Regions from separate parts of the Homo sapiens genome. Here regions 1, 2, 4 and 5 are each linked to region 3. Evidence: promoter capture Hi-C in 16 types of primary human blood cells and fetal thymus (Javierre and others, 2016). All regions are on one chromosome and are shown on one strand. Each heading gives the region's core, a stretch centred on a gene start or on the middle of the fragment in contact. The rest is flanking DNA. Distances are from core to core; before and after follow the strand shown.

Region 1 (4,937 bases), core at 1,686-4,185, 2.1 Mb before region 3:
GGGCATAGTCAGCATGATGATTGCTTTGAGAGATTTAGAATTGGCATTTCTTTAGCTGTTGCGCCTTCTTTCACACCAGCTGAACAACAGTTCTTAAAATGTGGCCCAGAGACTCCTACAACCATTTCAGGAGGTCTGCAAGGTAAAAGATCTTTTCATAGTAGTACTAATGTTATTTGCTTTTTTCACTCCCATTCTTTCATGAATGGGGTTTACAGTGGCTCCATAACGTGTAATGATATCATTGTTCCGATGCTTAATGGAATGTGTGCTTCTGTGCTCTTCGTGTATTCTTGTAATACCAATCTTAATTTCAAATATGATAAATATTGACAGATAGAGCCTGCGTAAACTACAGCCGTTCGGAGTCTGTAATATTTTTTAAGAGTATAAAGGGGTTTCGAGACCAAAAAGTTTGAAAATCACTGCTGTAGAAGAATAAATTTAGTTAATTGTGTCTACAATGAAATGTAGAGGCAATTTGGCCTAGGAGATTTTTCTTTTTATAGCGTCCAAAATGCTATAGTAGTGGGGCCATGCCGTGGCAAGGAAACATTCTCCTCTGGAGTGCCCAGAGGAAACACAGCCTTGCTCAAGACGCTGAAGGACTTCTGACCTTCAGAAATGTAATAAATCTGTGTTGTTTTAAGCCTTGAAGCTTTTGGTAATTTGTTACAGCCACAATAGGAGCTGAATATAGGCCAGGTGCGGTGGCTCACACCTGTAATCCCAGCACTTTGGGAGACCGAGGCAGGCAGATCACCTGAGGTCACGAGTTCGAGACCAGCCCGGCCAACATGGTAAAACCCTGTTTCTACTAAGTATAAAATTAAAAAAAAGCCAGGAGTGGTGGCGGACACCTGTAATCCCAGCTACTTGGGGGGCTGAGGCAGGAGAATCCCTTGAACCAGGCAGGCAGAGGTTGCAATGAGCCAAGACCATGCCATTGCACTCCAGCCTGGGCAACAGAGTGAGACTCCACCTCAAAAAAAAAAAAAAAATAGGATACAAATACAGATCTGTTTCAGAGAAAACAAAGACTTGTTGAGCACCTGCTAGGCACCAGGCCATGAGCAAAATTACATAGTCAGGGCTTACAAACACTAGGATTCAAATTCAGGTTCACCTGCATTCAGAGACCAAATCCTTTCCATGAATCTTTTTTTTTCTTTTTTTTTTTTGTCCCCATTCCAAAAGAAAAAATGTTCTATGGTAAAAGTGGTGCTATAAACTTTTGATTTTCTCTAAGGACAATTGTAGAATTTCAGTGCATGATCCATATTGTCAGAGATCATGAATATTGCTTAGGTCCTGATGGCACCTTGATCGTATGCCCTTACTTGACTACAATCTAGTCGATATGGATAGCACTGTGGGTAACTTTACAGGCACTCAGTGTGTTCCCCTGAGCTAAAGAAAGGAGGTATTTCCCCCACGTTACTCCCTGTATTCCTAACTATGAATCAACTCTCAGGTTAACTGCAGCATACTCATTTACTTCTGAAAATGAAACATGAGAATTGTTAAATGTCAAGCTCTGCCTCATGAGAAGGAAATTCTAAAGTGAATTCTTATTCAATATGGGTAAGAGAAGATTAATTGCTTTTTAAAAATTTGGTGATGAAACATGCTGGTTTTCTAGTCTAAAGGAGAGTATTTACTTATATCAATATTCAACACCAGTTGATTTGTAGGAATATTTTTAAGGCAAGATTGGTTTGAAAGCAATTAGGATGGATAGAATTTGCTTTGGAAGGTAGCTTAAATGTAAGCAAGGCATCAAAATAGCTTAAATATCCAAATATTCAGAGATGTAATTCAGAGGTTTCAGGAACATCATGTATTTGGAAAAGCCAAGTTGATAGTTCCACGCCATGAGATGGTGATTCATACAAGATGTCTCCATCTTCATTTTGCCTATTATCTTTCCCCCAGTTCTACACTGTTCCAAGGGTATATGCCAGTCATTTCTGAGTTGATATTAGGCCGGGACTCAAGATCACCAAATCCCTAAAAAACCACTTACAGTCACAACCATGTCTACTAGATTCCCCATAAGAGACACAATCCATGCCTTGATGGTGAGGCCTGGCCTGTGCACACTGTTTATTACTGTTTGGGTTTGGTGCCAAAATCCTTTTTGGAATTCCTAGACCTGGCGAATTGTGCTGGACTACATAGGGCTGAAAACATTCCTATGTGTCTTTTGTCAGAGGCCTAAATGAAGTTCCTCCAGATCTCACTCTAGTGGCAAAAAAAAAAAAAAAAAAAAAAGAGAGAGAGAGAAATCCAAAGAAAAATAGAATATAGGTGGGATGGTTCCCTACGCCCAAAACCTAGACACTCTACCCCAGGCCAGGCCTTCCTGTGGCAATAGGAAGTGGGGTGTGGGTGGTTGGTGAGAAAAGGCCGTTGGAGGAGTTCATTACTAGGTGGAAAGCAGGCCTGTCTTAATTGCTAGAGCGGCAGCTGGCGGAGACATCATTTTAATAAGACAAGTCCAAAATGACAGAGTCTCTAAAATCCCTAATCCAACTGGAGAGCATAGTTAGAGAATAAGCTTCTGCCTCCTTTTCTTACCATGACATTAAAAGTTCCACGCTCTGCCTCAACACTGTGGCCCAATAAAGATCCTCAGAAATTAATGTTGCTTCTCCTTAGGTGTCAAGGACAGGGAGGACTGGAGCTTTGATCTGACCCCATAGGCCAGCAGTGTATATTACCCCACAGTTAGCTAATGTTATGGTCATAATTTACCTCCTCAGGCCTGCCTGGGATCTGTCAGTTTTATCAATGGGGAGGTGAAACAGAAGCTGATCCTCTTCCCTACCAGCCTTCCAGATTGCCTGGGCTGCTTCATTCCTCCAGCATTCCATTTAAATCAAGGCAGGCACAAGACCTGCTGCTTTGCATTGTGATGGGATGCACCTGACAGGTAGCATCTGAGCACTCTGGGATGCTATGCAGCAGTGCAGCTACAAGCATGAATCAATTAAGTGGCGATTAGGTTCAGACTCTCAAGCAATGACATAGTCGGCTTCACACTGACTTTGCTATACATAAAATCCCCAGAAAGAATAATACCTTATCCAAACTTTCATTATATCTGGTAGTAGAATGAATATGGATCGATAATAAATTTTGTTCCAATATAACATTAGTTTCAGAAGAATTTTCTCCTTCTTTCCCTATCAAGAAATCAAATTATGGCCATAAAAATAAAGGCTTATCTACTTGAGGACTCTGTGAAGAGAACAATGGTTTGCTTTTTAATATTAACATTTTAGCTTGTATTTGAAAATAAGCTTGGGTGATTTTATACAAGAGAGAATTAAATATGTTTCTCAGAACATGAACTTACATTTGGATGTTTTGGAAAAATAACCTTTTTTACATGACAATGGAATTAGATCTTATAATAATTTCAGGTTTTTGAATGAAACCTTTTAATTTTGGGGTATATACCAACTTTATAGATAAGAATGGAAAATAAAATAATGAAAATTCATTATACATCTGCCACCAAGCTTTATTAAAATAATATGCCGTATATGCTTCAATAGTTTCTGAATAAATGATGCAGTATAAGCATAACTGAGGCCACCTTCATTTTTCCCCATCTCATTACCCTTTCTTGCTCTGAAGGGTAACAACTCTCATGAATTCAATGTTCACTATTCCATAGTTTGCATATTTTTACTATATATACATAGAAACTATACAGTATTATTTTGCATACAGTCATTCTGTACATGTCCTTCTCCAAATTGATTTTTAAACTCACCATTTCAGACAGGATTTTTAACCTATGGAACCTGGGATGTGTAGAGGTATATAAAACCCCAAGCCTTTAATTTAGGATGCAAGGCCTTCAGGTGTTACATGAACCCCTGAAATTATAGGTACATGCACTTTTTTTTGAGATGGAGTCTCACTTTGTTGCCCAGGCTGGAGTGCAGTGGTGCGATCTCAGCTCACTGCAACCTCTGCCTCCTGGGTTCAAGCGATTCTCCTGCCTCAGCCTCCTGAGTAGGTGGGATTACAGGCATGCACCACTATGCCCGGCTAATTTTTGTATTTTTTAGTAGAGACGGGGTTTCGCCATGTTGGTCAGGCTGGTCTCAAACTCCTCACCTCGTGCCTCAGCCTCCCAAAGTGCTGAGATTACAGGTGGCACATTTTTTTTTTTTTCTGAGAAGAAAGTCCACAGCTTTTCTAAAATTCTCAAGTCCGTCTTTGACCATAAAAGAAAAGAACCACGAGATGGAATCTTCTTTCTTCAAAATGTTGAGATTCCATTAATGTACAAAGCTGTATTTCTAACCATGATGTATGATTTTTCTTTATTTTATTCTGCGTGTTTTTTTCTAAGTCTCTAGCATTATAGAAAATTGATTATTCTATTGGTTGGCTGATTTTTTTTTTTTTTTCCTCTTGGCTGGCTGGTAGAATGGGAGGTGGTCAGCACGTTTTGAAGGCCGGGAATGACTTAAAAAAATTGTAGACACCACACTGACCGCTAGAGGGCACTGGCACAACTGCAAAGAGTGTCTTTTTTTTTTTGAGTATAGGACTATAAATGCCAGAGGAGCCGCTTACAAGATCTTCACATATTTATTTATCTCTGTTTACAGATTTCTTCATCGAGCTTTTAATATGTTTTAAAACGTTGGTGTTCAAGTTATTTTAATGTTATCAGACTCATAAAACAAATTTAAAGCAAGCCTGAAATAAATGAAGTACACTACAGCGGATCCTTGCTTCTTATCTAGTCATTGCTAAATATTTAAGACATCAACTGCTGGTCAATTTATATCTTTATTAATAAAAATAGATAACATGATTTAAGAGTTAACATAGAGAAAGGCTTTTCATTTAAGACTTTACTAAAAAATGCTTTGTCATCGTTTATGCAACTGTTGTACATATTCACTCTT
Region 2 (5,437 bases), core at 2,435-4,934, 2.8 Mb before region 3:
GTAGTTTGGAATATACCCAATTATGCTTTCTCAGTGAATGAAGTGAATGAATGAATAATTATAGAGGAAGCTCCAAGGCACATGGTGTTAGGAAGATACTGCCCACTGACTCTCCTTTCAGTAAACCTTCAGATTTTTGCTGGCACTGTCACCAGTAACTTGCATCTATGGGCAGACAGGTGGGCAGCCCCCGGGAGGGCTCAGGAGGGTATAAAATCTCTCAGAATGGCAAGGAGAATTTCCCAAAGGATCTGATGGCATCCTCAGCCAAAGACATAATGCCATCAGCAAAGTGGTGAGGATGAAGGCAGGGCACCTTGGTGGGTATAGAAAACAAGGGAAGCTTGTCTTTCCAACTGCCAAAATGCTGCTAAGCCTCCCCCTTTTTGTAGCTCTCTGTGTCCGCTAGGTTACATCTTAACCTGTATTAATGTACCTTGTATCCTTTGCCCAGGTCTGTTGGGTGCCTTTCTGTCACTTTTCTCCTAAAGAAAACAGATCCAAGTTTAAAAGGCTTCTGTTATTCTAGGAGGACCTAGGTCTCTGCAGATAAGCCTCAGCAGCTGGGAGTGGCACGGGGCTGGGGCCAATAGGGTGGGGGGCCAAGGAGAGTGGGGTGAGGAGAGGCAAGGGAAGGGTGGGAGTTCTGGATGGCTGAGTGCCTGTAGGTCTGGTTTTTCTACACCAACCCCCCTTTAAAGAGATCAGCTATAGATTATGTATATGTATCTATTCTTTGTAACATTGTCATTCCAAATATCTCATGTTTTTCCCTTAAATCATTTCATTGCTGGGGAAAAATGGTGAAAATCACTGGCATACACAGATCCAAAATCACCCCTTATTTATAGATTGTAGCCGATTAAATAGTTTCCCCAGAATTCACTATTCACTGAAGAGTTCAGGGTGTCCAGAAAAAAGTTAAGGCAAAAGCAGGATTATTTCCAACAATTAACACAATCTATTCCGTTTACTCCAGAGAAGGCTGATAAACCACCTTAGAGGGCTTCTGCCCTTCAGGGACTCTCAGGCACATAGTCCTGTCTTTGAGTTTGAGTCTGAGGGGAAGCTGAGATGAGGCTGAGATGCAGGTGAGATGCATGCCAAGGCTGTGTGATGTTCCGTCTCTCTGGAATTAGGACAACCTGCGTCCTTCTCCTGTGAACATCTATGGAAGCAGCACCATAAACACTCGGGTGAGTGCTTCTCAATGATTTCCACGAGTGGATAAATGTAACTGATTTGCCTCTTACAATAACACACAGATCCTCCCATCTCCAACGAGGGGCTTTGCAGGATTCTGATTGAACACTAGATGCCGCTGTTGACTCACTCTGTGTTCTGTGAGCTTCAAGATCTCATCCCTCAGTCCCCATCAGGAGAGACAATTTTTAAAAGCCTGAGTCAATTAACGAAGTTCTGTCTATTTTTCCTCATTTAGTGATTGATTTAGAGGGTTTTTATTTATTCATTTTTTGGTGAATTTCAGAGGTTGTCTTTTTCTTGGAGAACATTTGGAAATTGGCAGAAAATGAAACAACGAAAGGGCATCGATGTCTTTTAAAGAAGAAAGGTCAACTCAGACTAAAGGCTTGTAAATAAGATCATTTTTGGATTTCTGAGTTTCTGCCCCAGAAAAAATTCAAGTAACTCTCAGGCCTACCTGTTTCTCTAGTTCTGTAGCATGCCAAATTGTGTTTGTCTTCGGCATGTATTTGAATATTATAATCTGAGATATGCCGGATAGCTGCCTCTACTGCATTCCAGGTTGCTAGTGTCATTATTGGTTTTCTACTTTCTAAAGCAACTTTTTACTTTGGCAAATTTTTAAAACAAAAGGGGAAAGACTAGTGAAGTGTGCTCCAAATACCCATTCCTTTGAAACCTACCAAATTTTAAATAATTATCGAATTAATTTTCCTCTTAGGCAGGGTGGTAAAGGGGATGCCTCTCTCAAAAGGCAGATTACTAAAAGTGATTTGGAAACACAGAACATTGCAAATAAAACCGGAGAGCCCTTGCTTCATTTTTCTGTCTTCAAAATTCCTTGATTCTTCCAGAACAAATATGACTCAGACTTGGAGAGAGCTTTATCTCTGTGCTTCAATAGCAAAAGTACTCAGAACATTTATCATATTGCATTGAAATACACGTTTACATTACTGTGTCCCTGTCCCCCAGAAAAGAAGACCTCTTTTAGGGTAGCACCAAATCCTGGTCAACTACAAATCCTGGTCGTCTTTGTATCCCTGTGACCTGATCTTTTCATAGTGATCGCGCCACTGCACTCCATCTTGGGCAACAGAGTGAGACCCTGTCTCAAACAAAAACAAAAACAAAAAGCAAATATTTATAGAAGGTGTTTGAATAAAAAGAAAAGATTGGATCCAGTTTCTAGTGGGTAAGGCAGATGAGAACAGAGTAGACAAACAAACAAGGTAACTACAATTTGCAAGCAGTGCTGTAACAGGAACACTGGATGAGATAAGGTGGAACTGAGTGGGGCCCCTCTGCACAGGGTGGTCAGGGGCCTCTTCTCTGAGAGAGGTCTGAGTTGGGACCCTTAAAGGATGAGTCACAGCCAGTCAGTCATGCAAAGATGTGAAGGAAGAGGGGCCCAGGCAGAGGGAACAGCAAGTGCAAAGGGCTGGAGGCGATAAAGGCTTTGGCATAGCTGAGGGCGAAAGGGAGCAGAGCATGTCTGGAGTAGCTTAGGGGGTCATGATGAGCAGAGCGCTGGAGGCACGAGGAAGGGTGGATCTTCAGTTCCTGCCTTGTGCGACCAGAGAAGGGTGTCTGCCTTGGAGAGCCAGGAGCTGACTTATGTTGTGAAACAATAACTTGCCATGCATTGCGAATGGATCAGAGGATGGCAAGAATGGGAACAAGATGTGTCAGAATTGAGAGAGGGTGATGGTTTGGACTAGGTTGGTGGCATTGAGGAGGAGCATAAATGGGTGAAGTGTGAGGTGTATTTTGGAGAGGTAATGGACAGGAGTTGCTGATGCATTTGAATTTGGGGGATGGTGCAGGAAGAGGAGAAATCAAGGATGACTCATAGCTTTCTAGCTGTGGCAGAGTGTGGGGCCATTTGCTGAGTTAAGGATGTCTGGGAGAAGAGGCTAGATCAGAACAGAATCAATTTTGGATCATTTTGATGAAACACCATGAGTTCCTCCCCAGACCCCCAACAATTGGAGAACTTATTTTGTTTCTAAGCACAATATTCTAAGTAGAATATTGTGGGGGTTTTTTTGGTAACAGCTTCATTGAGGTATAATTCACATACTATGCAATTCACCTATTTTAAGTATATAATTCAATGGTTTTCAGCATATCCACAGAGTTGCAATCAATTTTAGAATATTTTCATTACCCTAAAAGAAACTGTACCCTATTGCAGTCACACCTCCTTCATTCTTCACATCTACCCTCCTCATCCTAAACCCTAGGCAGCCACTAACGTAGTTTCTGTTTCTAGATTTATGTGTTGTGGACGTTTGTGTAAGTGGAACCTATGGTTATATGGGACCCTTGTTCCTGACTTCTTTCACTTAGTATAATGTCTTGAAGATTCAACCGTATTGTCGCATGAATCATAATTGTATTCCTTTGTATTGTGGAATAATTTCCTTCATTTTTATGAAATAATATTGCATACAATATTATAACATTTTATGCATCCATTTATCAGTTAATGGGCATTTGGGTTTGTCTTAGTCTGTTTGGCTGCCACAACACTCGCTTCAGCCTGAGTGGCTTAAACAACAGACGTTTATTTCTCACAGTTCTGGAGTCTGGAAGTCTGTGATCAAGCGGCTGGCTGATTCAGTGCTCAGTGAGGGAGCTCTTGCAGGACGCCATCTTTATGCTGGATCCTCCTGTGGCAGAGAGAGATGATCTCTCTCCTGTCTCTTCTTCTAACGGCATCAATTCCATTCGCAAAGGCTCCTCCTTCTCCCTAATTACCTCCCCAAAGCCCCACCTTCAAATATCATCACAATGGAGATTAAGACTTCAACATATGAATTTTGGAGACACTCCGTTCATAGTGAGGTGGTTTCCACTTTTGGGGTATTATGAGTAATGTTGCTAGGAATATTTGTGTGCAGATTTTTGTGTAGATATCCAGGAGTTTTGTTTCAACATGAGAATTTTGCAGTGTTTTTAGGACAGTGTTTGTAGGACAAAACAAGCTGCTGCCCTTGATTCCCTGCTCTCTTCTCACAGCTGACCATCCTGTGACCTTTGCCATTGAGTTTAGGAGACTCCATTCCACTGTAGACAAACCAGCCTGAACCCTCGTGTCTCCACCTCGTGTCTCTTTCTGTTCTGTATCCAGCTGCTACATATTTCGGGATGAAATGCCCTGCAGTTGGTCTGTTGGTCGGCATTTTATGTGGGAGTTGGCTCACATTGTTGATGTGTGAAGAATGGTATTGTTGGCTCACGAGAACGTGGGGTGACTTCCTGGAGGAAGTAGGACAGCCTAACATGTATCACGAGAGAGAAGCTATGAGGGCAAGAGAAGCTGCATCCACGAGGCAGTCCTGGGTGGGACCTCCAGCTCTCCACTTCCTAACTTGGGCAGATTGCTGAAACTTCCTGGCCTTCATCTGTAAAATGGCAATGCCAAGTTTCATGCGCGTCCGTGTGAAGAGACCACCAAACAGGCTTTGTGTGAGCAACATGGCTGTTTATTTCACCTGGGTGCAGGCAGGCTGAGTCCGAAAAGAGAGTCAGCGAAGGGAGATAAGGGTGGGGCCGTTTTATAGGATTTGGGTAGGTAAAGGAAAATTACAGTCAAAGGGGGTTTGTTCTCTGGCAGGCAGGAGTGGGGGTCACAAGGTGCTCAGTGGGGGTTCTTTTTGAGCCAGGATGAGCCAGGAAAAGGACTTTCACAAGGTAATGTCATCAGTTAAGGCAAGGACCGGCCATTTACACTTCTTTTGTGGTGGAATGTCATCAGTTAAGGTGAGGCAGGGCATATTCACTTCTTTTGTGATTCTTCAGTTACTTCAGGCCATCTGGGCGTATATACGTGCAAGTCACAGGGGATGCGATGGCTTGGCTTGGGCTCAGAGGCCTGACATTCCTGCCTTCTTATATTAATAAGAAAAATAAAACAAAATAGTGTTGAAGTGTTGGGGCGGCGAAAATTTTTGGGGGGTGGTATGGAGGGAGAATGGGCGATGTTTCTCAGGGCTGCTTCAAGCGGGATTAGGGGCGGCGTGGGAACCTAGAGTGGGAGAGATTAAGCTGAAGGCAGATCTTGTGGTAAGGGGTGATATTGTGGGGACGTTAGAAGAAACATTTGTTGTATAGAATGATTGGTGATGGCCTGGATATGGTTTTGTATGAATTGAAAAACTAAATGGAATAACAGAAGGAGAAAAACAGGTATAAAAGGTCTAAGAATTGGGACAACTCAGGATAT
Region 3 (5,336 bases), core at 1-2,500:
ATCTGTGATATGGTTTCTCAGGAACACCGTTTGGCAGTCCTGATAATTTCATGTGTTTTCAAATTTCAGCCATCCAGACTACACAGTTCACTATTTTCAGCTCCTTTCATTTTCCTTTTCCCTTTAATTATAGAAGTCTCTATTCCCTCTTTTCGCAAATGTGGTCAGGAAAGATACTAAATGCTACTATTTGTAGAAAGAATATGCATTTGTTTTTCTCTTGACGGTTCACTTAAGTTCTTTCCAAATAAACAAGCTGTGGTTGATAGTGATAGGTAACACTTCAAGGGTAGCAACTTTTTGTACTCATCCGTTCCTTTGACTTTGGAAGACGTGGCACATGCCCCGGGGGAGAAAAAGCAAGTCAACACTTTAGTTTTTAAACTTGCACTGTTAAAGCACTTTCAAAATAGTAATAGTTGAGCTTCATCTCAGACATGAATGTCTTTCTCAGTCTATTCCCCAGGACCCCTCTTATCCCGCTTCAGGTCCCGGTCAATGCGGTGCGCTTTCCGAAATGGGGCCGCAGAGTTGCCGGCGGAGACCAGTAGGTGGGAGGCTCCACGCACACTCCCCGACTCGGCCGGGACGCGGCTCCCGGACTCCGCGCAGGGCGCCAAGATCGCCGCCCCGCTCCCTTCCCCCGGCCTCCCCACCAATCCCAGTTTGAAAGAAAACTTCACGCGGCCGAAATGAACGTCACCTCACCGCTCCAAGCCTCCAGCCGGCAGAAAACGTGAGATTTATTATGACACGGGGAGGGGAGATGGGGGTCGCCGTGGCACACTCGGAAGCGGGTTACCTGGCCCCCGTCGGGGGCGGGGTCCGCAGTCCGGGGACCAACGGGCTGGGGGCGACGCGGCCGGGCGCGCGGGTGGGCGCGAGGGAGTGCGCGCGTCGCGGAGCCTCCGGGGCAGCACTTGTCCTGTAATCGATTGCCGAGCGCGCCGAGCGGCTTAGCGCGCAGACACGCGCACACGCGCCCGCCAGCCCGCGCGCGCGCGCACACGCGCTCTCATACACACACGCACAGGCGCTCGGGCCCCGCACACACGCACGCGCGCGCACGCACGTCCGCTCGCCCGCGCCCGGGGCTCCGCTGCCCGCCGCCAGCCGCCCGCCGCCGCCGCCGCCGCAGCCGCCGCCAGCCCGCCCTCCGCCCGCGGGCGTCTGCGCGAGCCCGGCCGGCGGGGGAGATGTGCTCGGGCTCCACCGGATCGGTTTCTCGGGGTTTGACCAGCTGTCCCGGGCTAACCCTGCTCCTCGCTGAAGATGGAGGAAGTAAAAACAGGATTACCCTTAGCTACAGATCCACTGCCTTAGTTTCCACCACCAACTGCAGTGCACAAACACACGTTAGGCACAGGAAAGAAAGAAAGACAGAGGACACATTAACAGTAAACACAAACAAAAGGGTGATGGGATTATTTTACTGCATGCACTGCTGAGGTAAATCTCCGCTTGGCTTTTGCGTGGTGAAGAACAGCTCTTGTTTTGTCTTCTGATTCATAGATTATATATAAATATGTGTATGATTTGCAAAGGGGGGAGTGTTTTCAAAGTTAAGTGTAATTATATAGCATCTCGTTTTGCACTGTGATGTGATCAAATGACTTGTTGCTGTTAACCAGTAATAATAATAATAATATAGGTATTTTTCTCTGGGAGGGATGGATTGTGGTTCTGATTAGGGTAATGATTTTTGTAAAGGACGCTCAGGGAATCGGGTTGAAGATGATGTCCTCTGCCTTAATTTATCGTCCCCTCCTTGTAATCTGTTTCTGGGATGTTAATCGATTAATCAGTTCTCATCTCTATAGCTGTCATGAATTTGGACTTGTTTTGCTTTGTTTTAACTTGAATTCCAAGAAGAAAGATTGGGTAGGCTGGAATAAATTGAAGCTGTCCAGATAGAAGGTAATATCCAGATCCTGTTGGAATTAAAAAAAAAAAAAAACCAAAAACCCTGGTATGACACATGTAAACAGGCAGCAGTTAAATCACTTTGACAGGTTCTAGTATGGGCGAAAGAGATGGAATTAAGATTTATTTATTTTTTTTCTTTTTTGCCAAGGGCCAAAAACAGTCCTGTGAAGTTGGCCTGGGTTCCTAGCTGGGTTCTGCCTGACTGTCCCTCCCCTCTACCCGCCCCCCCCCCCTTTTCTTTCAGTTTTCTTGTCTTAGCTTTTGGTCGATTCTTAAGGAACCGGTGGATCAAGTTTTTTCTCTTGTTAATCGCATTGCTATAGCACTGACTGACCTCTCTCTCTCTCTTTTTTTTCCTCTTTCCTGAAAGTACGTGGTGCCATTCCTGAGTGACTTTTCCTACTAGACCATCCCTAAGGGACGAGGGGGAGGGGTGGAAGGAGGAGGAGGAGGAGGACGAGGAGGAGGAGGAGGAGGAGGGGGGTGTTCTTCTCTCTCATTTCTTGGTTTTGTTTATCAGCCGATCTGTTTGCTGGATTTGGGCTTGGAATGACCCACCTGTAAAGTGCTTTTCCTTCCTCCTCCCCTTGAACTCTGCAGGGGGCTTGGCTTGGAGGGGGCAAGGGAGGGAAAGAGAGAAGGGGGAAACACAAAAAACTTCTTTCTTTCTCCCTCCGTTTATCTTCAGCCCGACATTGTCACCTCCTCTTTGAGGGGTTAGAAGAAGCTGAGATCTCCCGACAGAGCTGGAAATGGTGATGAATCTTTTTTAATCAAAGGACAATTTCTTTTGTATGTACATTTCGTTTCTCTTTCTCCTTTTTCTTTTTCCTTCTTTCCTTCTCTGAGGGTTAATAACCATTTCATTGATGGGGCAGCCTTCTTTCGCTTCTCCCTGACGTTTCTTTCTTTTTAATATGTGTGTGTTAAATGTGTACATTTTTAAAGAGATAAGCTCATTTGTAAAATATCCGAAGAAACTGCTCCTCTTTTAAACTTTACGGATCTCTTTCTTTAAAGCCTTATGTAATCATAATTTAAAAGAATGTGATAACAGTACAGCAGGTTGAAATTTAAGTGCTATGTAGTGACTGAGTTGGGAATTTGATCTGATTATTCCATAAAGAAAGAAATAAAAGTTTTTTTTTGGGGGGGGGGTAAGGGAGTGTGGTGGTGAAGAAGGGGAGGGGAGGGAGAAGGGAAGTGGTTTTGGAGACAAGAAGTGAAGCTGCCTGTTTTCCAGTAAGTAATGGAGAAATTCCAGGAGCCAGGGCTAAATATACTTGGCGATCAATACAGAAATGGCTCATTGTGAATAATTTAGCTGCTGGTGCAGTGAGAGTTTTGAAACTAAAGGCAAAAAGGACCAAGGCCAAAGGGGGAAAAAAAAGTAAAAATCTTCTCAGGACTTGTCAATTCTTAAACTTTTTTCCCCACAGAATACAGTTAGATTATCGATCTTTTCATTATGTGAATCAAAGCTAGGGGGTGTCATCTCATACAGTTTACTTTTGTTTCTGAGAATTATGTTCTGTTGTGTGGCGTTTGTGCATGAGAATAATTGCCCAAAGTTTTTTTTTTTTTTAAATGATTCTCTCTAGCACAACCAAAGTTTATGAAATTTTCAAAATCAGACTGTATTAAGTAGGCTTGGCATTTGTGTCCAAGCATGGTCTGGCAGGAAATTAAGGTTACATTGAACAGGTGCTTACACAGAACTTGGGGTAGGTTAAAATGTCAATACAAGTCAGGGAGTTGGCCAACTGCTGTAGAAATCTTCAAGACACCGTTGGGCACTAAGTTTTTTGTTTTGTTTTGTTTTCTTATGTTTGTTTGTCCTCCCCCTCCCTATTAGAACATGATGAACCAACTTGCAACAATTGTGAATAGAGCTATCTGTATACTGGGGAAGTCCTCAAACTGCAGTGTGATTGTGGGAAGTAGTGAATGGTAAAACACTTAAATCCCAGTTAAAGCTGACACATTTGAGCTATACCCCCTATTTTTTCTTAAACCCAATAAATTTTGATTAAGAGAGTCATTCCCTTTTTGCTCTAGCCCATCTCACAGCACACTTATCTTTCCTATCCTATCTCCAGCAGGAATCAGATCATTTGCAGAAAGAGTTCAGTGACTTGCAAATGAGCACATACAGTACACTGTGTATGTTTCTGGGCACAGGTGGCAGCAGCAACATGGACTAACTGCTTGGAGCTTCAAATAAGTTAAGAATTTAATGGCAGATACTGAAAGGAATCATTGTATTAAGGGTATAATCTTTTGTTTTGCAGCATTGCACTTTGACTATGGAAACAGAGGCTATTGATGGCTATATAACGTGTAAGTATTAGTTTTCATTGATTTGTTATTGGTAATAAAGTTGCCTTTGTATTACCTGTGTTTTAATTCCTGGATTATGAAACTTTATTGAGAATTCTGTACTCTTTTTTCTCTCTGTTCACAATTTCACCTTTGAATGAGTTTGAGAAAATGACAGCACTGAAGTGAAATAAGAAGGAAATATAGAAACATACTAAGTTAAGTAGTGTACTTAAATCAATAGTAGCTAGCAGTTCAACACTTTCCTACTTTTTATAATTTACTTTGTTGTAAGTTGAGAATAGGCCAGGTTTCATATATGTCTATTAATATGGTGTGTACTAAATATTTACTTCTCTGTAACCTAATTTTTCAGACATATTATGTGAAAGAGAATTAGCTTTCCTAACTTGACATTTCTTTAGCTACCTGTCTTTTCCATCCTCTCTCTGATAGCCAGCATTTTGGAAAATGCTCATTATAAATTCTGTGTGCTTAACAATTAAATTAGATGTTAAAAGAAAAGTTATTTCTTTCAACTGAAAGATACTTTAGAAATCAACAACTTATGTATTGAGATAATAAAGTTTTGTTAATTTTTTTTATTGTGGGTTGATTATGGCTTCTCATCATTTCATTCAACTGTATATTTCTAAATGATATTTCCTTATAGTTTCTAAGGGAAAAATGTATTACCTTACAGTTTGAAGGCTATGCATGCCATTGCGTGTATAAAGCAAAGTTAGTAATTACATCTTATGTGACAATGAATAGAAACCAAAAGATTATATTTTGTGAAAGCAGGTGACAATGAGCTTTCACCCGAAAGGGAGCACTCCAATATGGCAATTGACCTCACCTCAAGCACACCCAATGGACAGCATGCCTCACCAAGTCACATGACAAGCAGTAAGTCTTCATTTTATGATTTTTTTTTGTGTGTGTGTGTCTCTCCAGCAACAGACTTTAATTTGTTAGGTCTGTGGGGTCCTCTCACATTGTGGTATAGCTACTGTTATAGATTTTGCTAAAGAAAGAACAACACAGATTTATTCCTGTTCATTCTAGTATTATAAAACATGAGCCTGCTT
Region 4 (4,898 bases), core at 1-2,500, 2.8 Mb before region 3:
CTAATATTTTGAAAAAAGTTCTTTGTTTATTTATTTAACAGTGGCACCCCACCTTTCCTATGCCCCAAAGAAAGCTTGCAATTACTGAATAAGAACAAAGCAGGAGCCAGGTCTGGGTCTGGAGAGGCAGAGGGGCAGAGTGGAGGAGGCTGCTTCGTAGCCACGAGCAGGTCAGATCCTGCTGGGGAGGGCCCAGGAGCTCGCAGAGAATACCACTGCTGGGAGGCATTGCCGGTCCAGGGGCACAGCGGTTGGTTCTCTTTCCTGATTTACATCATCCCCTGAATATCAGTGGCTAGGCAGAGTTGGAGGCTTGTTAGGGGAATACTGCTTCTAATTAGGGCAGGGCTAGATATGGTGAGAACCCAGGAGGCACTCACCTTCTGGAGACATGGGCACTTCTAAACAGGCTGGGGTTGACCTTCCTATAGAGCTTTACTTGGGCTTGTGGATTAAGGACGAGAGGCTGGTGTTTTATGCTGGCTGAAGTCATGCATGTATGTGTGTGGATGGATGTGATAAGCGAGAAAAAGAGAGGAAAGACAGAGATGCAGAGACAGCTAGAGAGAGGAGAGGAGAAATAAAGAGGAAAAGAAGTGATAGTGAGAGAGAGCAAGAGACAGGAAAGAGAGACAGAGACAGCTAGAGAGAGGAGGGACAGAGAGACAGAGAGAGAGGTTGTGAGAGGGTTGGGAATTGGCCAGGGAGGCAGCTGAGATCGTCATTTTAAAATAGGAAAATAAATTGTGGCTTAGTAAAGTAAAAGGTGGCTAGATTATTCATGGTCTAACGTTATTTTTACTGATTTTTCAGGTACATACTGGCTCCTTTCTAAAGCTCCTGCTTTAGGGAAATTTTTAAAAGGCGGTAACCATGAGTTATGTCTGGGATTTCCTTCAGCAGATTGGGATCACAGCACAGTTTGTTGCGTTCAACAAGTACTTTTAAGGCAACTGCTGTGTCCTAGGACCCTGCTAGGTGATGTGGGGAAGAAATGTAGAAATGTAGAAGAAATACTGGATACAACCCCTGCCCTAGAGGAACTGACCCACCTGTTGAGGAGACAAGACATAGAAATGAAACACATCTGGGGGAAGATGGAAGACCAATGCCAGGAAAAGTACCAGGGTTTCATTGCTCCAGAGGTGCAGTTATTGTGATGTTGGAAGCCATGGTTGCAGCTCTTGGTGGAAGCTCTGTGCCAGGTCTGGGTGACTCAAGGAGAGTGCATCCTGGGGACAAGCCACAGGGGAACCTGCTGGTTTGTACAGGGAGCATCCACACAGGTAGTTATTATCTGAGCTACTTCACTGTGAGTGCATCCCTGTCACAGCATTTGGATGTTGAGTTATATAACAGTGGCTCCTCCGAGATCCCCACCCAGGAACTCATGTTGGGGGGACTGTCAGCTGGCTGTCTGGCCCAGAAGAAGTCAAGCACTGCAGTATTCTTGTCCCTATCTGCAAAGTAGGCCAATGCCACCCATCCTTCTTACCTTAGATGCTTGTGTAACGTGAGGGGTGGAATGCAGGAGCCCTTGGCTCAAGCCCTGAATATATTATGCAGTGGTTGCATATCATTGGCTGCAGAAAGAAATTGGAGTCAGCATCTTTCATGTTATCGACACTTCTCCGGTGTCCACCTGCTGTTTGTCCTGCCTGATCTCTCTTTCTTGACTCACCTATTCTCTTCCTTCTCCAAATCCCGTAAGACCATTCTTCTGATTCTCTGACCTGCTTCTGTGATGCCATGAAATGCTGCGTATTGCTCCCACATCTAGATCTCTACCCTGTCCTTGCTCCTAAACCCAGATCCCTGACATCTCCCTGAACATCCTGCAGGCTCATCATGTCAGCCGTGGCTTCTGCCCCATGTGTTACAGTTGAAGGCGTCACCTTCGCTGGTACCTCTGTGCCTCCCACCATGGGCTGCTGTCACCCGCTCTCTGATGCTGCTGGAATCGGTCCTCATTTCCACTCTCACTGCTATTTCCCTCGCTCTCAACCTCGCTTACTTTTATCTCAATCATAATTTCAGAATGTTCAAAATTATGTATTTGTTTAGCAGTAGAACCCCATTTTTCCTGTACCTCAAACAATCTTCCTTCTAGCTCTAACAAAGACTATTTGAATGGAGAAGCTGCTCTGGTTGTGGTTGGTTCATGGGCTTCTTTCTATCTCTTCCAGAGAAGCCCTGCCCATCTCTTTCTCTACTTCTGCCCCACTGTGGTCCCAAGGCCCCCTGACACCAGGACCTCAAAGAGCATGGCTTGAAAATTACACCTACTCCCGTGTGACAGTTGATTGTGACACCCTCCTAAGCCATCTTCTTGTTCTTCCTTCACCCAGAGTTATTTCTCTAAAATCCAGACCTGACAGGGCTCAAAATCCTGTTGATAATGTTGCAGTTCACAGAATGAAGCTTGGACACCAGCACTACTTTTAGTCTGACCCCACGTTACCTTTTCTTCTTCATGTCTCTCCATTTTCCTTGCTCCGCACACCACGTGCTGCAGTCATGCAGGAATACTTCGATTCCCCAACCCCGTGGGCTCCTGAAGCCTCCATATACTGCTTTGGCTTGAGCTGATCCTTCTACAAGGAATAACTCTGCCCTTGTTTCTCTTCCTGGTGGAAGCCTGTTCAGTCCTCAGGTCTGGTTAGTTCTTGAACTTCCTTCTCATCATACATAACGTATCACTTCTTCCTGTTTGTTCCTACAACAATCTGTGTAGACTTTTTTTAAAAAAATGTACTGATCTCATTGCATTATAGTTATGTTAAGGGCAGAGACAATGTCCTATTTATCTTCATGTCCCCATGGCACCCAGCCCGGTACTCAGTATACAGCAGGCATTTATTCCACATTTGTTGAATAAACAAACAATGGAATGAATGAAATGAATGAATTTGACATGCTCATAAAAGTTCACATGGGCAGGGCCCAAAGGCATCATTTTCCTCCTCTTTCACTGGTTCATCATTCTTAGGAAGAGTCAGGCTGTGGGGCTGCCTGTGTTCTAGCTTTTGTGGTATTAATCAGTAAAAACAGCGTGGTTCTGAGCATAGTGTGCCTGAGCTGTGTCTGATTTCCCATCATCTGCACCTTTCCCCATAGGGCCAGGTACTTTGTTCAGTCCCAGACCCTAAACTTCTGACCTGCAGCCACAAGGATTTCAGGAGCACTGTTCAATATTCAGTCTCTAAACCCCATGCTGATTCAGGTAGCTGGTCTCCTGCTAGCCTTGGTTCCAAGATTCTGTCCCACCTTTTGCCCTAGTTTTTGTAAGTGGGCCCTGGTTGTTGTCCCAATTATTATTATTATTATTATTATTATTTTTTTTTTTTTTTGTGAGATGGAGTTTTGCTCTTGTCGCCCAGACTGGAGTACAATGGCGCGATCTCAGCTCACTGCAACCTCTGCCTCCCCGGTTCAAGCGATTTTCCTGCCTCAGCCTCCCGAGTAGCTGGGATTACAGGCATGTATCACCACACCTGGCTAATTTTTGTATTTTTAGTAGAGATGGGGTTTTGCCATGTTGGCCATGCTGGTCTTGAACTCCTGACTTCAGGTGATCCACCTGCCTCAGCCTCCCAAAGTGTTGGGATCACAGGCGTGAGCCACCGTGCCCGGCCCTGTCTTCCAAAATTTGAGGCGGTGATTGGCAGTCTGACCTGTACCTCATCACTCTAGGGCTGGAGCCCCTCCCTAGCTGGGTGGGTTCCTGCTGCTGAACCCCAATCTGGGGACTGGCACTCTGCTTCCTGTTGCAAAATTTCCTTAGTGCCAACTTCTGAGCATCCCATATTGACATCTTAACATTTCCTGTTTCCTTCCACCCCAGGCCTTTGAAGATGCTGTTTCCTCTGCCTGCAACTCTGTTCTTGTTTTTCCACTTAAAGCTCCAGCACCTCTTCTTCATGACACCTACCTGACGCCTGCCTTCATAAGGATTTTCTCTTAGCAGCTTGCATATGTTCTCATGGCCTCCTGAGCTCCCACTTAATGGCACTTATCACAATTTTTATTTTATAGTCATGTGATCATTCATTAATGTGTTTCCCATGCTAGACTCTAGTGAGGTCCAAGGACAGGGATGATGTCTGTTTTGCTCACAATTTTATTGAGCCCTGTGATTAGCATGTAGTCAGTGCTTTATACATATTACTAGATGAAGTGAATAGCTTCTGTATGACCCTACCAGTCCTTCCCACAGAAGTCAACTGGGGGTTACAGAAGTTAACTGGGGCTGTGTGCAGGCATGCCCCAGATGTGATGCTCTGTCACTAATCTTCTCTGTAAGTCCACACCCAGGTACCACCTTATAAGGCATAAATCATAAAACAAATGTACAGAATGGGACTACTGAAATTCTCACTCAACATTCTGCCTTGTTTATTGAAAGTCTTTGGGTACGCATGTTTATTACTTAATTTTCCTGGCATAAGGAATTTGATAGCTATTATATATCATTGTACTCCAAGTTTACTATGCTTCCTTGAACTCAGAGCCAGTCAAACATTCATCCCTTCATGTTAATTGTTTTCTTCTTTTAATCACACAAGAATTCTATTCCTGGCTGGGCGCGGTGGCTCACACCTATAATCCCAGCACTTCGGGAGGCCAAGGTGGACAGATCACTTGAGGCCAAGAGTTCAAGACCAGCCTGACCAACATGGCAAAACCCTGTCTTTATGAAAAATAAAAGAATTATCCGGGCGTGGTGGCAGGCGCCTGTAATCCCAGGTACTCGGTAGGCTGAGGCAGGAGAATCACTTGAACCTGAGAGGTGGAGGCTGTAGTGAGCTGAGGTCGTGCCACTGCACTCCAGCCTGGGTGATGCTGGGTGATGAAGCGAGACTCTGTCTCAAAAAAAAAAAGAATTGAATTTCCTTTGT
Region 5 (5,104 bases), core at 2,273-4,772, 2.9 Mb before region 3:
TATCACAGAGGGTGGGGGAAGGGAGAGTTGGCTTGACTCTTGTTCAGAATGGACATTTTTGATATTAGGCAAATTTTAAACTGACACTTTCTGTTTCTTTCCTTCTTTCAAGGTCCTAGTGTCTTAACTACCTCATGCCTTTTTCTTTTTTGAGACAGATTCTTGTTCTGTCACCGAGGCTGGAATGCAGTGGTGTGATCTTGGCTCACTGCAACCTCTGCTTCCTAGGTTCAAGTGACTCTCATGCCTCAACCTCCCAAGTAGCTGGGATTACAGGCATGTGCCACCATGCCCAGCTAATTTTTGTATTTTTAGTAGAGATGGGGGTTTCACCATGTTGGCCAGGCTGGTCTCGAACTCCTGGCCTCGAATGATCTTCCCACCTTGGCTTCCCAAAGTGCTGGGATTATAGGGGTGAGCCACTGCACCTGGGTACCTTGTGGCTTTTAGACTATTATTCTTACTTCAAAGTTAAATTTCTCTTAGAGAGCTTCGAACTCTACTGGGTAATGGTGGTGAAATGGTGGTGGCACAGCATTATCTGTTTAAAGATAGTTCAATTCACATATTTTTTAGCTTCCAACAAGTATATTCACACCATTGTTTTGTCTTTCTGTCACCAAACACCAAATGTATTACAGCAAAATATTCCTATACCACCGTTCACATTTTACCAATAAGAGATGATTGATTTCATCAAGTATCTTTGAATTGTTTGGAGGGTGTCTTTGCAAACGGATAATTATTTTGGAGACCCTGAAATCTCTAAACATCATTTTTATTTCAAGAAACTTTAAAGAGTATATGATCATAACACTTCAAACTTCTTTTGAAGGAAAATATTCTTTACATGTAGACAGAAGTTATCTCTCATGTTTAAAGTACAGATTTACATAATTTGGCTATCCAGAGCCTACTACATGGATAGGATGCTTGATTTTAAGTACAGATAGTTTTACCTGATTTGCCTTATGTGATGTAAGTTTACTCTGAAGACAGAGTAACATTTTAGTAATTCCTAGTTATTAAAAAATTAAGGTTCTTACAGTAGAGCATTAATTTTCATAAAGTGGGCTGTTCCCAGGGAAGAGATTTTTTGTGTTTGAGTGTGTGTGTGTGTGTATGTTTTACCCCATTTTATTTAATTGAGGTGAAATTGACATAATATAAAATTAACCAGTTTAGCCAGTTGTGGTGGCTCAAGCCTGTAATCCCAGCACTTTGTGAGGCAGAGGCGGGTGGATTGCTGGAGCTCAGGAGTTCAAGACCAGCCTGGGCAACATGGTGAAACCCCATGTCTACAAAAAATAAAAAAATTAGCTGGGCATGGTGGCGCATGCCTGTAGTCACAGCTACTCAGGAAGCTGAGACGGGAGGATCGCTGGACCCTGGGAAGGTTGCAATGAGCCTAGATGGTGCCACTGCACTCCAGCCTGGGCAACAGAGTGAGACACTGTCTCCAAAAATAAATAAATAAATAAATAAATAAACACAATGGAAGTAACCATTTTAAAATGAATGATCCAGTGGCATTCAGCACATTCACAATGTTGTGTAATCATCATCTTTGTCCAGTTTCAAAACGTTTTCATCATCCCAGAAAGAAACTTTATATACATTAAGCAGTTGTTCTTCATATTCTGTCCCCCACCCCTGTCCCCAGCAGCCATCAGCTGGAGTTATGTCTCTCTATGGATATTTAATGTATATTGAATCATATAATGTGTGACCTTTTGTGTCTGGCTTTTTTCACTTATCATAATGTTTTTGAGGGTCATCCACATTGTAGCATATGTCAGTACTTCTAGGGAAGAGTTTTCATCATGTTTATGTGGGTGAGACTGCTTCTACTTGTGGACAATTTCCTGAACCTTATTTCTAGAATGTTCCCTCCAAAGGGCTGAAGGCTTAAGTGTTCATGCCTGGAGGACTTCATCTTATGTTAAAGAAATCTGATAAAAGAATTCCTGGCATTTTGAGAGGAAGGAAATCCTGAGCTTGTGTGACTGCCCACACGGATGGATTTCGGTGCAGGGATTGCCGAGCAGTGGCTGCTGAGATTCACGGGCTCTAGATCCTCCCTCCGGAAGGAAGGAGCTGCTGGAAGTGTTGCCCGACACGGCCCTAGCTGTCAGCCCATTTCTGGGACAGCCTCTGCTGAAGAGGGCTGCCTCGGCTAAGGCCATGTTCCTTTCCCAGGTAGGCCTCATCCAAAGACTGATTGTCATGGAGGGGACAGAAAGGGCCAGTTCTCGCTTACTGACTGACTCAGAGCAGCTCTGAATTTTCATTCTGTCTTTAGAACTCCCCATAGGGTTGACTGAGGCCCAATCAGTTCCTTTGTGCCCTTCTTTTCCACAGGTGTTGGTTCTATGCACACTCATAATAAATCTCCTGTATGCTAAATTCCATCTCAGAGTTAGCTTTCCTGGGAAGCTAATTGGCAGTACCAGATTTTCTGCCAGTTAGAAGGAAGGAAGGTCTGCACCTCCTCTAAGTTGAGAAGCTTTGCTTTTGAGCTACTGGGCTGTCTGTGGGTAGTAGAGGTCTTCTTTCTTAGTTTTACAATTTTTGTCCTGTCGAGATCTTTAAATCAACCTCTTCTGGGTATCAGTGGGGTGGCAGCTAAGGATTTTGCCTTTATTAATGAGTTTTGCATTACTACAAAACCATTCTCCTATGTTGCCATAGAGAAAACATAAACATTAAAATGAGATGTGCATTTTCATGCATTCTCATGCTTTTCAGGGATGTCACAGTGCCAGGAATCATGAAAGGGATACAAACTGTTATGCCAGTTCATCTTTATAATACATTTTCTTTCTTTCTTCCTTTCCTTTCCTTTTCCTTTCCTTTTCCTTTTCCTTTTTCCTTTCCTTTCCTTTCCTTTCCCTTCCTTTCCCTTCCTTTCCGTTCCTTTTTTTTTTCCTTTCCCTTCCTTTCCCTTCCTTTTTTTTTTTTGAGACAGAGTCTTGCTCCGTCGCCCAGGCTGGAGTGCAATGGCGTGATCTCGGCTTACTGCAACTTCTGCCTCCCTGGTTCAAGCAATTCTTCTGCCTCGGCCTCCCAAGTAGTTGGGATTACAGGGGTGAGCCACCATGCCCAGCTGATTTTTTTTTCTTTTGAATTTTTAGTAGAGATGGGGTTTCACCATGTTGGCCAACCTGGTCTTGAACTCCTAACCTCAGGTGATCCACCCGCCTCGGCCTCCCAAAATGCTGGGATTATAGGCATGAGCCACCACACCCAGCCAATATATTTTCTATAGGCAAGAAACCGTATTTGTTTAACAACAATTGGACAGGTTCTGCTCTCCCTTGGACTGAGGAGTACTTTGATAAGTCATTTGGCTTAGGGACAAAAGAGAGGGCACGGGGCGTCCTTTTTTTTTTTTGAGACTGAGTCTCACTCTGTCACCCAGGTTGGAGTGCAGTGGTGTGATCTATGCCTGGCTAATTTTTGTATTTTTAGTTGAGATGGGATTTTGCCATGTTGACCAGGCTGGTCTTGAACTTCTGACTTCAGGTGATCTGCCTGCCTCAGTCTCCCAAAGTGCTGGGATTACAAGTCTGAGCTACCGTGCCTGGCCAGCACCTGGTCTTCTTATGGGGTACATAGGAAAGATGTGAGTGATAGGGAGGGGTGGCCCAGTTTAAATTCCCTACCTGAAGTGACAAGACCTTTCTAAATTGAAAAGAGCTCAAGGAGAGAAGACCCTGAAAGGCTCGGCATGGCAAGGGAGAGTGGAGCTTAGAGGCATCCAGTTTCAGCTCCACAAAGTGATTCAAAGGGGTACTCATGGCATATACTTGAAAGGGCCCTCTACTTTGGTCAAGCAAAATATTTAATATTAAGCATTTATCAGTTGGAGAGGCTGGCCAGGTGTGGTGGCTCACACCTGTAATCCCAGCACTTTGGCAGGCCAAGATGGGCAGATCACTTCAGGTCAGGAGTTTGAGACCAGCCTGGCCAACATGGTGAAACCGTGTCTCTACTAAATGTATAAAAATTAACTGGGCATGGTCGTGGGTGCCTGTAATCCCAGCTACTCAGGAGGCTGGGGCAGGAGAATCGCTTCAACCCTGGAGGCAGAGGTTGCAGTGAGACAAGGTTGTGCCACTGCACTCCAGCCTGGGCAACAGAGTGAGACTCTAACACACACACACACTCAGAGAAATAAAATGTAAAAACAAGAAGTTTTAATGCTTCATTTAAATTGCTTCCCTTATATTATTTAAGAAATATATCTAGTGGCCTATACACTTTCCATGGTTTTCAGGCTAATAAATCAAATACCAATGCTTAATAAGATGAAATGAAATAGTAATACAATAATCAAAGCTATTTGGCACATGGTAGCCAAGAAAAGAGAGGATTTACTTATTGCTCAATTTAGCAGTGCCCTAACAGGTTTAGAGTTTAGTTTACAGCTAGTTTAAATCTCCCACTTAAATATTACTATGTCCCTTTAAGCTCTAGGTTCATACAGGCATTGTGGCTACAGCAGCTTTCCATCTGTTGAGTAAAAGAAAGCTTTAGAACCTATTTGAGATCCTTAGCCCCATCTCCAAAGAGACTGCAGTGAATTTACAATTGGATGCCAGGAGGTGGCAGCACAGAGGATTATAGGAAGGTTTGTATATAACCTTTGTGGGGAAGTCTAAGGTTTGTATATAACCTTTGTCGGGGAGGTCCACCTGCTGTCTTTACTTTGGTAGAACTTGTCCGGGAGAGTTGCAGGGTTCTGGCCTGTCGATGTATCTCTTGAGTGTTGTGGAGAAAGAAACCATATAAAGGAATGGTGAACTAAAAACACGAATTTAAAGGCATAAATTCGGTTATCTTTAACACTCAGATGGGTAGGATCTGGGCTTAAAGTTGAGGCAAGCCTCCGGTCGCCTTTCATAGCAAATGTGAATGATGCTCAGGTTTTCTCCTACTACAGTTTTTGATGCATATTTTCTCCTATTTTGCAACTTCGAGTCACCTTGCATATAGCAAGTGCTTAATAAATGCTTCTTAGAAACTCTGCTTCTGCTTCTTAGAGTTTAATTGAATTAGGAAGCACACCGATGATAGCTGGGTCTAGGCTTATGTTTAATTT

What was found. Contacts are between HindIII fragments. The CHiCAGO score rates a contact against its expected background, and 5 or more counts as called.
Region 1: a fragment that was not itself captured here is called in contact with the fragment with the promoter of IKZF2 in region 3 in 1 of 17 cell types (total B cells); the score reaches 6.4 in total B cells.
Region 2: a fragment that was not itself captured here is called in contact with the fragment with the promoter of IKZF2 in region 3 in 1 of 17 cell types (total B cells); the score reaches 5.3 in total B cells.
Region 4: a fragment that was not itself captured here is called in contact with the fragment with the promoter of IKZF2 in region 3 in 1 of 17 cell types (total B cells); the score reaches 6.7 in total B cells.
Region 5: a contact is called between a fragment that was not itself captured here and the fragment with the promoter of IKZF2 in region 3, in 1 of 17 cell types (fetal thymus). The highest score is 12.4, in fetal thymus.

Annotation. Positions count from the first base shown.
Region 1 is chr2:215,269,620-215,274,556 of GRCh38, reverse strand. No RefSeq gene overlaps it. Among named protein-coding and RNA genes, the nearest start is that of LINC02862, 2.9 kb to the left of the region's middle. RefSeq lists an enhancer at 2,644-3,192. The HindIII fragment of the contact is 745 bases long and covers 2,563-3,307 here.
Region 2 is chr2:215,927,329-215,932,765 of GRCh38, reverse strand. No RefSeq gene overlaps it. Among named protein-coding and RNA genes, the nearest start is that of MREG, 84 kb to the left of the region's middle. RefSeq lists an enhancer at 4,629-5,155. The HindIII fragment of the contact is 6,678 bases long and covers 346-5,437 here.
Region 3 is chr2:213,147,526-213,152,861 of GRCh38, reverse strand. It overlaps IKZF2 (IKAROS family zinc finger 2), which reads left to right and starts at 1,250. Exons shown (of 9, transcript NM_001387220.1): 1 at 1,250-1,449; 2 at 2,615-2,718; 3 at 4,218-4,266; 4 at 5,050-5,154. The coding sequence starts at 4,233. RefSeq lists silencers at 660-1,019, 1,100-1,159 and enhancers at 3,526-3,625, 5,327-5,336. The HindIII fragment of the contact is 7,158 bases long and covers 1-5,336 here.
Region 4 is chr2:215,996,760-216,001,657 of GRCh38, reverse strand. The region is part of intron 1 of MREG (melanoregulin); the gene reads left to right. Among named protein-coding and RNA genes, the nearest start is that of MREG, 14 kb to the left of the region's middle. The HindIII fragment of the contact is 2,347 bases long and covers 77-2,423 here.
Region 5 is chr2:216,022,740-216,027,843 of GRCh38, reverse strand. It overlaps a transcript of MREG not described here. Among named protein-coding and RNA genes, the nearest start is that of MREG, 12 kb to the right of the region's middle. The HindIII fragment of the contact is 2,027 bases long and covers 2,509-4,535 here.